Regions from separate parts of the Homo sapiens genome. Here region 2 is linked to region 1. The links are contacts of gene promoters, found by promoter capture Hi-C in human tissues and cell types (Jung and others, 2019). All regions are on one chromosome and are shown on one strand. Each heading gives the region's core, a stretch centred on a gene start or on the middle of the fragment in contact. The rest is flanking DNA. Distances are from core to core; before and after follow the strand shown. Region 1 holds the start of CADM1 (cell adhesion molecule 1). Region 2 has its middle 2.3 kb from the start of LINC02703.

Region 1 (4,540 bases), core at 386-2,885:
GTCTCCTACAGCGTGTCTCCTGCGGTGTTTACATAACTGTGTGTCCTCTAGCGTGTAAACAAAAGGCACAGCCCAAGCGGAGAGGCGCCCCTGAAGCAGCACCGTGGCCCCAACGCTGTGCCCGCCCGGGCCTGGGGCTCCGCAGGTGGGGGCTGAGCTCTCGGCGTCCTCCGCCACTTGTTGCTCCCGGGTCCTGCAGCTCTGGAGCTGCAAGGAGGGGCTTTGCAGGCTCAGAGCCCTGCTGCATCCCCTCCTGCATCGCCGCTCGCACCCCGCGGCCCCGTGCCACTCGGTCCCGGCGCCCGCCTGGAGCCTGCAGCAGGGGCCAGAGGACGCCGCGCGGCTGCCAAGCGCGGCGAGGTGGCGGGAAGGGAGGCTGGGTGCAGCACAGCCGGCCTCTCCGCTGAGGAAGAGCTCCGGCTCCCTTTTGTTAGCAAAAGCAAACACTGCCCTCTTCTTTCCCGACCGCGCCAACGCGCCCGGCACACGGGCAGCCACACATCGGGCTCCAGCCGAGTGCTCGGTGTCTTCAGGGAAGGCACCGGGCGTGCAGAGCCGCCCCTGGGCAAATTCCCAAGACTGCTCTTCACGCAGGGAGCGCGCGGAGGCCCGCAGGGTGCCCGCCTGGCCGCAGAGGCCGCGACGCCCCCTCCGCCACCCTCGGGCCGCCGAAAGAACGGGCAGCCGGGAAATCCCGTGTCCCCACTCGTGGCAGAGGACGCTGTGGGGCGGGCGGGCTGCGGGCTCCCGGCGCCTTCCCGCAGAGGCGGCGACAGCGGCCGCCCCCCCCGCGGGGCCGGGCCGGGGAACTTTCCCCGCCTGGAGCCGGGCCAAAAAGACCCGCAGCAGAGCCGAGGGGGCGGAGGGCTGCGAACGGCCGGAGGGAAACACGAGAGGCGTGCAGTTTGGGGACAGGGGAGAAAGGCAGAGCGCGTTGGGGGAAGGGGCAGGGGAGATCAGACAAGTCTGGGGATGTCCTGGGGACCGGGGAGAAATCACGCCGCGGGCGGCTGGGAGTCAGCCACCAGGAGGCTTCGGGGATGGAGAACTGGGGGGGCCCTCTGGAGAGGTGGGGGCGAATGGACAGCCCTGGGAGGTGGGAGGACCTGCAAGTTACGGGGAGAACGGCGAGTTTAGAAGGGTCCGGAAGGGTTGAGGTTGTCTTTGAACCATCCCCTTCCCCCATGCTTTACAGCCCCCGGGCCCCCCATTCTCACTCCACTCTGCACCCCGCGCCAAGCCGGGGAGAGAAGGTGTGGGTGCAGCCATCCCTGGGGACTCTCATTCACACTTAGCCGGGCAGGGGAGAAGGGGCTCACAGATGCCCTCAGCCCCTTCCCTCTCAGCCCTGAGTTTCCTCTCCACACTCCCTCCGCTTCGGATGTAGGAAGTGGGGGGAGGTTGTCATGGAAACGTTTCCCCCCTCTGTGGCCAAGGCTACTGGGGTGCCTTCGGAGATTTAGGGGCCAACCGGTCGGTGCCCACACCTACCTGTGGGGATCAGTGCCGCGGCGGAGAAGAGCAACAGCAGAAGCCGGAGCCGGAGCCCGGGAGGCGCCGCCGCCGCCGCTGCCGCCGCACACTGGGATCCGCTCGGCAGCACTACACTCGCCATGTCGGGCACCTGCCTCAGACTGGCGGCGTTGGCTGCCTCCGGAGCCCGAGCGGACAGCTAATGAGATGCTAATGACATGCGCTGGAGGCGGAGTCCGGGCAGACCAATCACAGCGCCGCGAGCCCAACCCGGCTCTCGGAGGGCCTCGCTCCCTCCCCCACCCCGCCCCCTGGCGCTGGCGTTCGGCGGCGCGCCCGCGCCACCTAGGGGCGGGGCCAAGGGGAGGGGCGTATGCAAATATGTTTATGTTAAAATTCGGGTTTTGCTTTCCCCGGATCAAGGAAAAAGTGTTCTCCCGGGCGCCTGGCGTGCAAGGACTCGGGCTCCAGGGGGCGGGTCTAGCTTCTTGTACACCTTTATTAGGAATGTTTATAGCAATCGCTGTATCAGACCGACGACTGGAGAATCTCCCTTAAGAGGGTCCTCTGTCCCGCACACCGAGTGCATCTGGCCTAGCGAACCAGACGTTGCAAATTTCCGTCACTCACCTTGCACCGAAGGAATAGATCTTTGGGAACGGGGGCTGTGCGGGAGTGGAGAGTAAGAAGGCAGGTCCCCGGATTGACAAAACAATCTGGGAGAAGTGCATGCGTGCTTTGCACGTCCGGCGGAGCGGGAGAGCCCGCTCAACAGCCTAGCGGTAGACTCGGGGATAGTTGGAGAAGGCAGCCGTAGAGTCGGGTTCTGAGATTTTCCAGTCGGTCTTTTTGCGGCAGAATCTCGGGAAAGGTAGATCGAGGAGGGTATGCTCAGGCTCCTCCGCTTGTCGAGGGTCTCCTCCCTGGTTTTAATATATAGGTGTGTGTTGAATATATGTGTGAAATATTTGTAATATTAGATATTTAAGATTACACAACAACGGAAAAAATTAGTCAAGGCTTCAGGTGAAGAGCGGGGGTGGTGGGAGTTGGGGAGAGGGAGTGTGGTGAAGGCAGGGTCTGCCGTGTTCCTCCTTCGGGGCTCAAACCCTCTCACTCCTCCTCTGCGCCCCCAGCCCTTCCTAAGGAAGCTGGGGACCAACAGGTGCTCCGAGCTTCCCCTGTCTCTGGGAGAGCCTCTCCTGCTAAAGCGACTTGCATCTCCGGACTCACTCTCCCTCCCCGAAATTCTCTTTGCTTTCTTTTCAGCCAGGCAGCCGGCTCTCTTGTTTGTCTGCTTTTTAATTACTTATTTTCTTCCCCTCTAGAAGATCGTGTGCGCTCTGACCCTCTGTTGCTCAAGCATCAAATTGAAGGACGAGCCATATTAAGTGTAAAGGTTTATAATAATTTAAGTATTCATAGAATGCAGAACAATAAGATGTAGGAAATACAATTTGCATAATAAATATCAATATCACAACAGCTAAAACAAACCATGACAAATTATCTGTGGCTAAATGACCAAGAGATTACTGAATGTAAATTGCTAAGTCTGAGCTATAGTCTAGAAGAGCTGCGCCAAATGACTTCCCCAGCCTTCTGTCCTCATCTTGCTATAAAATAAATAAATAATACATATCAAAAAGGAAGTCATGATCTGCCAACCCACCAAATGAGTTACACTTAAAAACAGCCTCCTATTATCCATTATGCATAAACTAATTTCGAGACTGCCCGGTCTTCACAGCCCTGGATATTCTGCTCTGTAATTACAGGCCCCGATGCATGAACTGCAGGCAGTCCTTCAGAAGTGGGGAAAGCTCCAACAGGAGAACAGCACTACAGGAGACAGGAAACCATTGCCACGTGGGTGCCAGGATAATGCCCAGTCTGCAAAGTCCTACCCGTTCTTACTACCTCTGGCAGTGAGGTACCTGGGTCGGACCAAATAGAGAGCAAAGTTCCACCAAAATTGGAATAAAAAAGTTAAGGCCAGCCGGGCACGCTGACTGATGCCTGTAATCCCAGCACTTTGGGAGGTTGAGGCAGATGGATCACCTGAGGTCAGGAGTTCGAGATCAACCTGGCCAACACGGCGAAACTCCGTCTCTAATAAAAATACAAAAATTAGCCAGGCGTGATGACACACACCTGTAATCCCAGCTACTCAGGAGGCTCAGGCAGGAGGATCACTTGAACCCAGGAGGCGGAGGTTGCAGTGAGCTGAGATCGCATCATTGCACTCCAGCCTGGGCGACAAGAGTGAAACTCCGTCTCAAAAAAAAAAAAGTAAGGCCATATGTATGCTGAAAGTGATATGTAAACTATAAAGGCAGGTCCTATATGGCAAGAATCCTGACACAGAGCCTGGCACATAGTAACATTATTATCTGCCGTTACTATTATTACTACTCTTGCATTCACTGAATTCTTAAGTATTCTACATGCAAAATCTCATTTAATACTTGAAACAATCCCCAAGGTACATACTATTATCTTTCATTTTATATTTTTTAAACATGATTAGAAAGATTAAGTAACTGCCCTAAGATTACAGTCTCTAACTTGCAGAAAGAGCCTATGCAATTAACCACTGTGCCTTTCTAAATATCCGTAAAGTGAATGAATAAATTTCACATTACAATGCATGAATAATAAGCAAAGGATAGCTACATTTTTAACATAAGATGAAAATATGCCAGCAACCCAGAAACATTTTTTTTTTTAACTAACAGAATTGCAGTATACTCCTAAGGAAAAACATTCCTCATGAAGCTGAATCTCCAGGAGAATCTAGCCAGGCCCCAGTCCTCCCACACTCGGAACACAGTATGGGGACATTGGAAGATGTAGGGTGTTTTCATCTCCCTTCATTCTCTTGGCACATCAAATGAACACCTACTCAAATTTCCAGTTGGCAAAGAACAACATGGGACATTTCTGTAGGAAATGCTAATGTCGTATGATTTACCTCACTAGAGGAATGCAAATAGCTTTAGAAATTTCCACCAAAATGTCCCCTGTGCCATAAGGTTAAGGAACTTGCACGTACAATTCCCCAGGT
Region 2 (4,156 bases), core at 1,128-3,627, 410 kb after region 1:
TGGACCTCATAACTCCTTCTGGGGCCCCTGCACCATGGGGTTGCCTGTTATTTTCCTGTGGTGGCACAGTGGCTGATGAAGTGCTGTTCCTCAGCTATGGCAGCCAACACTACTAGATAGAAGCTGCTTGTCAAGAAAATCCTTCAAAGGCCCTATTGCCTTGAAATGATATGCACTATTTCTATGGGCTCTTAAACAGAATAATTCATTAGTCAGTTAAGAACAATCAATATCTCACTCCGACAATTTACACACTGACTCTGTTTACCCAGTGGACCCTCTCTGATAATATTATTTATGATCCTAAATAACTCCATCGGTGTTCAATAGAGCTGGAGGTGCCTCTGGGACCAGGACACAATCAAATTATGAAGACATATGGTTTGCTCAGCTCTGGAAATGTTCAGACGCATTTCATTGATGTTAGTCTCACAGTGGTACCTCCCTGCTCAGTTCTACAATCTTCCTAATGGTGTCTGTAGGATGGCCCTCCTCTTTAGGAAGGGACTGCCAAGGGAATTTTATGGTGGCTATTTCAGGATTCTCCAAAGTGAAGGACACATAGAATAGTTCAGTGGATTCTAGACCAGGCTGGCAATTATGATGTACTAGGCTTTGCCTATAGAAGGGTATGGAACAAATTAGCCTGGGAGAGATTTGTGAGGCAGCAGAGAGACAAGGATGTGGGGTGTGTGTGTGTAGGAGAACACAGGAGGGGTGAGGTTAGGTGAGAAGCAGAGGATTTGTGGGGTCAAATAAGTACGTTGGAGTTCATAAGATTTCAGGGAGATCCCCAGACTTACTTCAAGATAGAAGGAGAGAGGTAAGGTGAGACCATTCACTTAAAAACACATCCCTTTATTATGGGACTTCTTACAATGAACATGTATTATTTATGTAATTAAAAATACAGAGAGATGGTAAGTCTCCCTCTTTTTCCTCTCCCTCCCTCTCTTTATTTTCCTCCCTCCCTGTTACCCCCTCGCTCCTCCTCCTCCTCCTCCTCCTCCTCCTCCCTTTTCTTTTTCTTTCTTTGTCTCTGTCTCATATGCACACCACAGTTTAGAGAAGCAGCATCAAGAGAGGCTCTGATGTGGCTTCATCACTAACTGCAGCAGGACAACATCAGTGCACATTCGGAGCCCGTTTTATAGAATGGACTGTGAAGGCAAAGTGTCAAAGAGGGAAAAGGCAGCATTGCAAAGACAGAGCAGGCACTAAAATCTCTCTTATTTTCCTACTCATTAACCCTTTAGTCCTCAGGAGAGCAGGCGAAATGGGGAGGGCTGCAGTCATGAAGAGAGGAAGGGCCCGGCCCAGGATCTCCTAAGCTGTCTACATTGTAGTGTTCTGATCCCAGCCTGAGAGGGAAGCCCCCAGGGCCCAGCCTATGTGGGTTATGACAGCCTCTCAAAGGGCAGCTGAAATCTGGGGCAGGTGCCAGCACCTGGCAATCACTTTTGAAACCTGCTCTTTCCAAATACTCTACATAATAACCCTGACCGCTTAGCAGAGGAGACATTGCCATCCCCACTTACTAGATGAGGCAATGAAGAGTTCCGGGCATGAATGCCCAGACCCAGTACCAGGAACTCTGGACTCCTAGCCAGCAATCTCTAGACTAGCCCAGCAGCATTTCTGCTCATCTGACCTGTGACTAATGGCCAGCAGTGAGTGGCTATGTGCAGTTCTGGACCAGAGGGTAATCTGTGGCAAAAGCTTCAAAGACAAAAAATACATGGCAGCATGTGGGGAAGATGCCCATCAATTTCTAGCCCCATAGTACTCTGGTTCTATTGATGAACTGATCTTTGCTGCACAAGAGTCTCACGGATGCTCTGACTCTCTCATTTCTCTCTCTCTCTCTCTCTCTCTCTCTCTGTCACTCTCTCTGTCTCTCCCATCCTCCCTTCCTTTCTGTTTTCGTTTTATCCTCAGATATTTACTGAATACATGCCATGTTCCAAACATTCAGAAAGGAGTTGTAATCGATAAAGAAGACACCTGTCTACAAGAAGCTTACAGTCTACTGGCCAGAGATGAGATGTGTCCACAGATAACCATGCTGCAAGTTAAGTAAAGAAGAATCTGTAAGAGTGCTATGCCACTGTGACCTGTTCTTTGAAAAAGCTTGAAATGAAATCACAAAGCAACTTTCTTGATTTCCCACTATTTACATTTACTTAAGGAGGAAAGTTCTACTAACCCCAAATATGTACATGGAAAGATCCATGACCTTTAGGAATATTTTGGGGGAAATAAAATGTTCAATGATACCTGAAATCATATCTAGATTGAACTCATATTTAGAATGCCTGATCCCATGTAATGGTCAAAGCTTCCAACTTCATACAAAGTTATAGCTGGTTTCTCTCTCCCCAGCCAGTGCCTGCAACAGGGCAGGGGTTGAATGGTCAGCTTGTATCGGCAGAGGTCCCATTGTTCCTGCATGCGGCCCAGTGGGCAGGGCCTAACTTTGTACCATCCCAGCTCTCTTGCTTGCAAAGCCCATATGAAAACCCTAGGAAACACTTAGGCATCTTTGCCTGAGCAGATACTGGGAGAGCAACTCACCCATGTGCCACCTCCTCTGCTTTCCTCCCTTCTGTCACCCAGATTTTACAGGTGAAGGTCACATGTCAGGCACTCATTCTCCCACACTACAGGGGACATACACTCTGCTGTCTGAGTGGTCCCATTGAAGACCCCCTAGCAGACTGGAGATAAGGTACAGTTACACCTGCCTCTCCCCTTAGGGAGGTGGAACTCACAGCTCACCTGTCTCTAAAGAAGCCCTCTTCACAAATACCTTCCTGTCAACCTCCCACACACTTATTTTTTTAATACCCTTGACAAGAGTGAGGGTTTTGAGCTGTGAAACCAGTTTCTGGATATTTCCTTTGAAATTTCCATCCCAGTCTGGCTCCTTGCTGGAGCAGCCAATATTCTGCCATTTCAGGTGCTGAGCCCTGGCCTGGGAGGTGCCAGCAGGGAGAGGCCAATTCCAGCAGAGGAGAGTCCAGGCATGTGGGGATATGGTGGTGTTCTCCATGGAGGGAGAAACAGGGCATTAATAAAACAGTGCCAGGAATAACCCTGTGATTGATGGGTAAAGGTCATGGACTCTGGGATACTGGCAGGCACTGATGGGAACCTGTTAGGGCTGGACCGGGACCATCTCTGGCTTCCTGCTTCCCTCAGGTACCAGGATGCTCTGCTATGGTCTCTGGCAAAACTGAGCACTGGGGCTGGGCACATAATTTTGCCTGGGACAACTGCTGTAGGGGCTTCAGAATGCCTGGTTTTCTAAATTTTATTGGTGTCAGGAGAGAGCTTTGATAAGCTTTAATGTGCTATTAATTATTTGGGCTGTTAAAAAAGGGAGTGCATGAGAGGCTTGGAGTTGAATGATCTCATTTCTGAGGTTCTGAGGAGGTACACACATACACCCCAGTGGAAGCCAACTCAGGATCCAGCTGCTCACGGAGTTCCTCCCTCTGCTCAGACACCAAGAGTGCTGCTGCCTGAGACTGAGCAGAGTAGGGAACTGGGGAGGATCTCCACTGCTTTAAACTTAAATGTAACTTGGGCAATTTGGACTTTCTTTGGGCTTTAATTCGCAAGGGCTAAATACTTTGATTTTGGACTTTAATCTCTTTGGGATTTTAATCTCTAAATTTTTCCCTAGGAATTTGATAATGGGAAGGGTTTATATCCAAATTTGGGACATCTTATTTTCCCATTTATTATTGAAGAAATCTTTATGCATTTTTTATTAGCTCTTTATGCATTTTATTATTGAAGTATCTTCACTCTGCTATTAAACCTCATTACAGAACCTCTGATGAGGTTAGTGGTCCATGTGGCTGGACATCAATTTGGATTGGAAATAGAACAGGCTCTGAACTTGCAGTCTTAGACACAACATAGCCTTGGACTGGATTTTATTAACACACTGTTCTGGCTCATCTCAGAGGCTTATGGAAGTGAAATCAACAGTGTCTTAGGATGGTCCCAGGAAGGCACAGGAAGGAACAGAAGTTGATGCTGGGGGAGCGACCTCCTGCTCAGATAGTTAGCTCATCCCCTCCTGGAGCCAGATGACCACATACCTGGTTGTCCAGGGGTTAAACATTAAGCCCAGCTGGTTAAGATA

What was found. The method cuts DNA at HindIII sites, captures the fragments that hold promoters and counts their contacts. A contact is called where the count stands out against the background at its distance.
Region 2: a contact is called between a fragment that was not itself captured here and the fragment with the promoter of CADM1 in region 1, in 1 of the 25 tissues and cell types used here (thymus).

The regions. Positions count from the first base shown.
Region 1 is chr11:115,502,780-115,507,319 of GRCh38, forward strand. It overlaps CADM1 (cell adhesion molecule 1), which reads right to left and starts at 1,636. Exons shown (of 12, transcript NM_001301043.2): 1 at 1,492-1,636. The coding sequence starts at 1,615. RefSeq lists a silencer at 1,662-1,821. The HindIII fragment of the contact is 7,329 bases long and covers 1-4,540 here.
Region 2 is chr11:115,915,284-115,919,439 of GRCh38, forward strand. No RefSeq gene overlaps it. Among named protein-coding and RNA genes, the nearest start is that of LINC02703, 2.3 kb to the right of the region's middle. RefSeq lists an enhancer at 4,049-4,156. The HindIII fragment of the contact is 4,128 bases long and covers 314-4,156 here.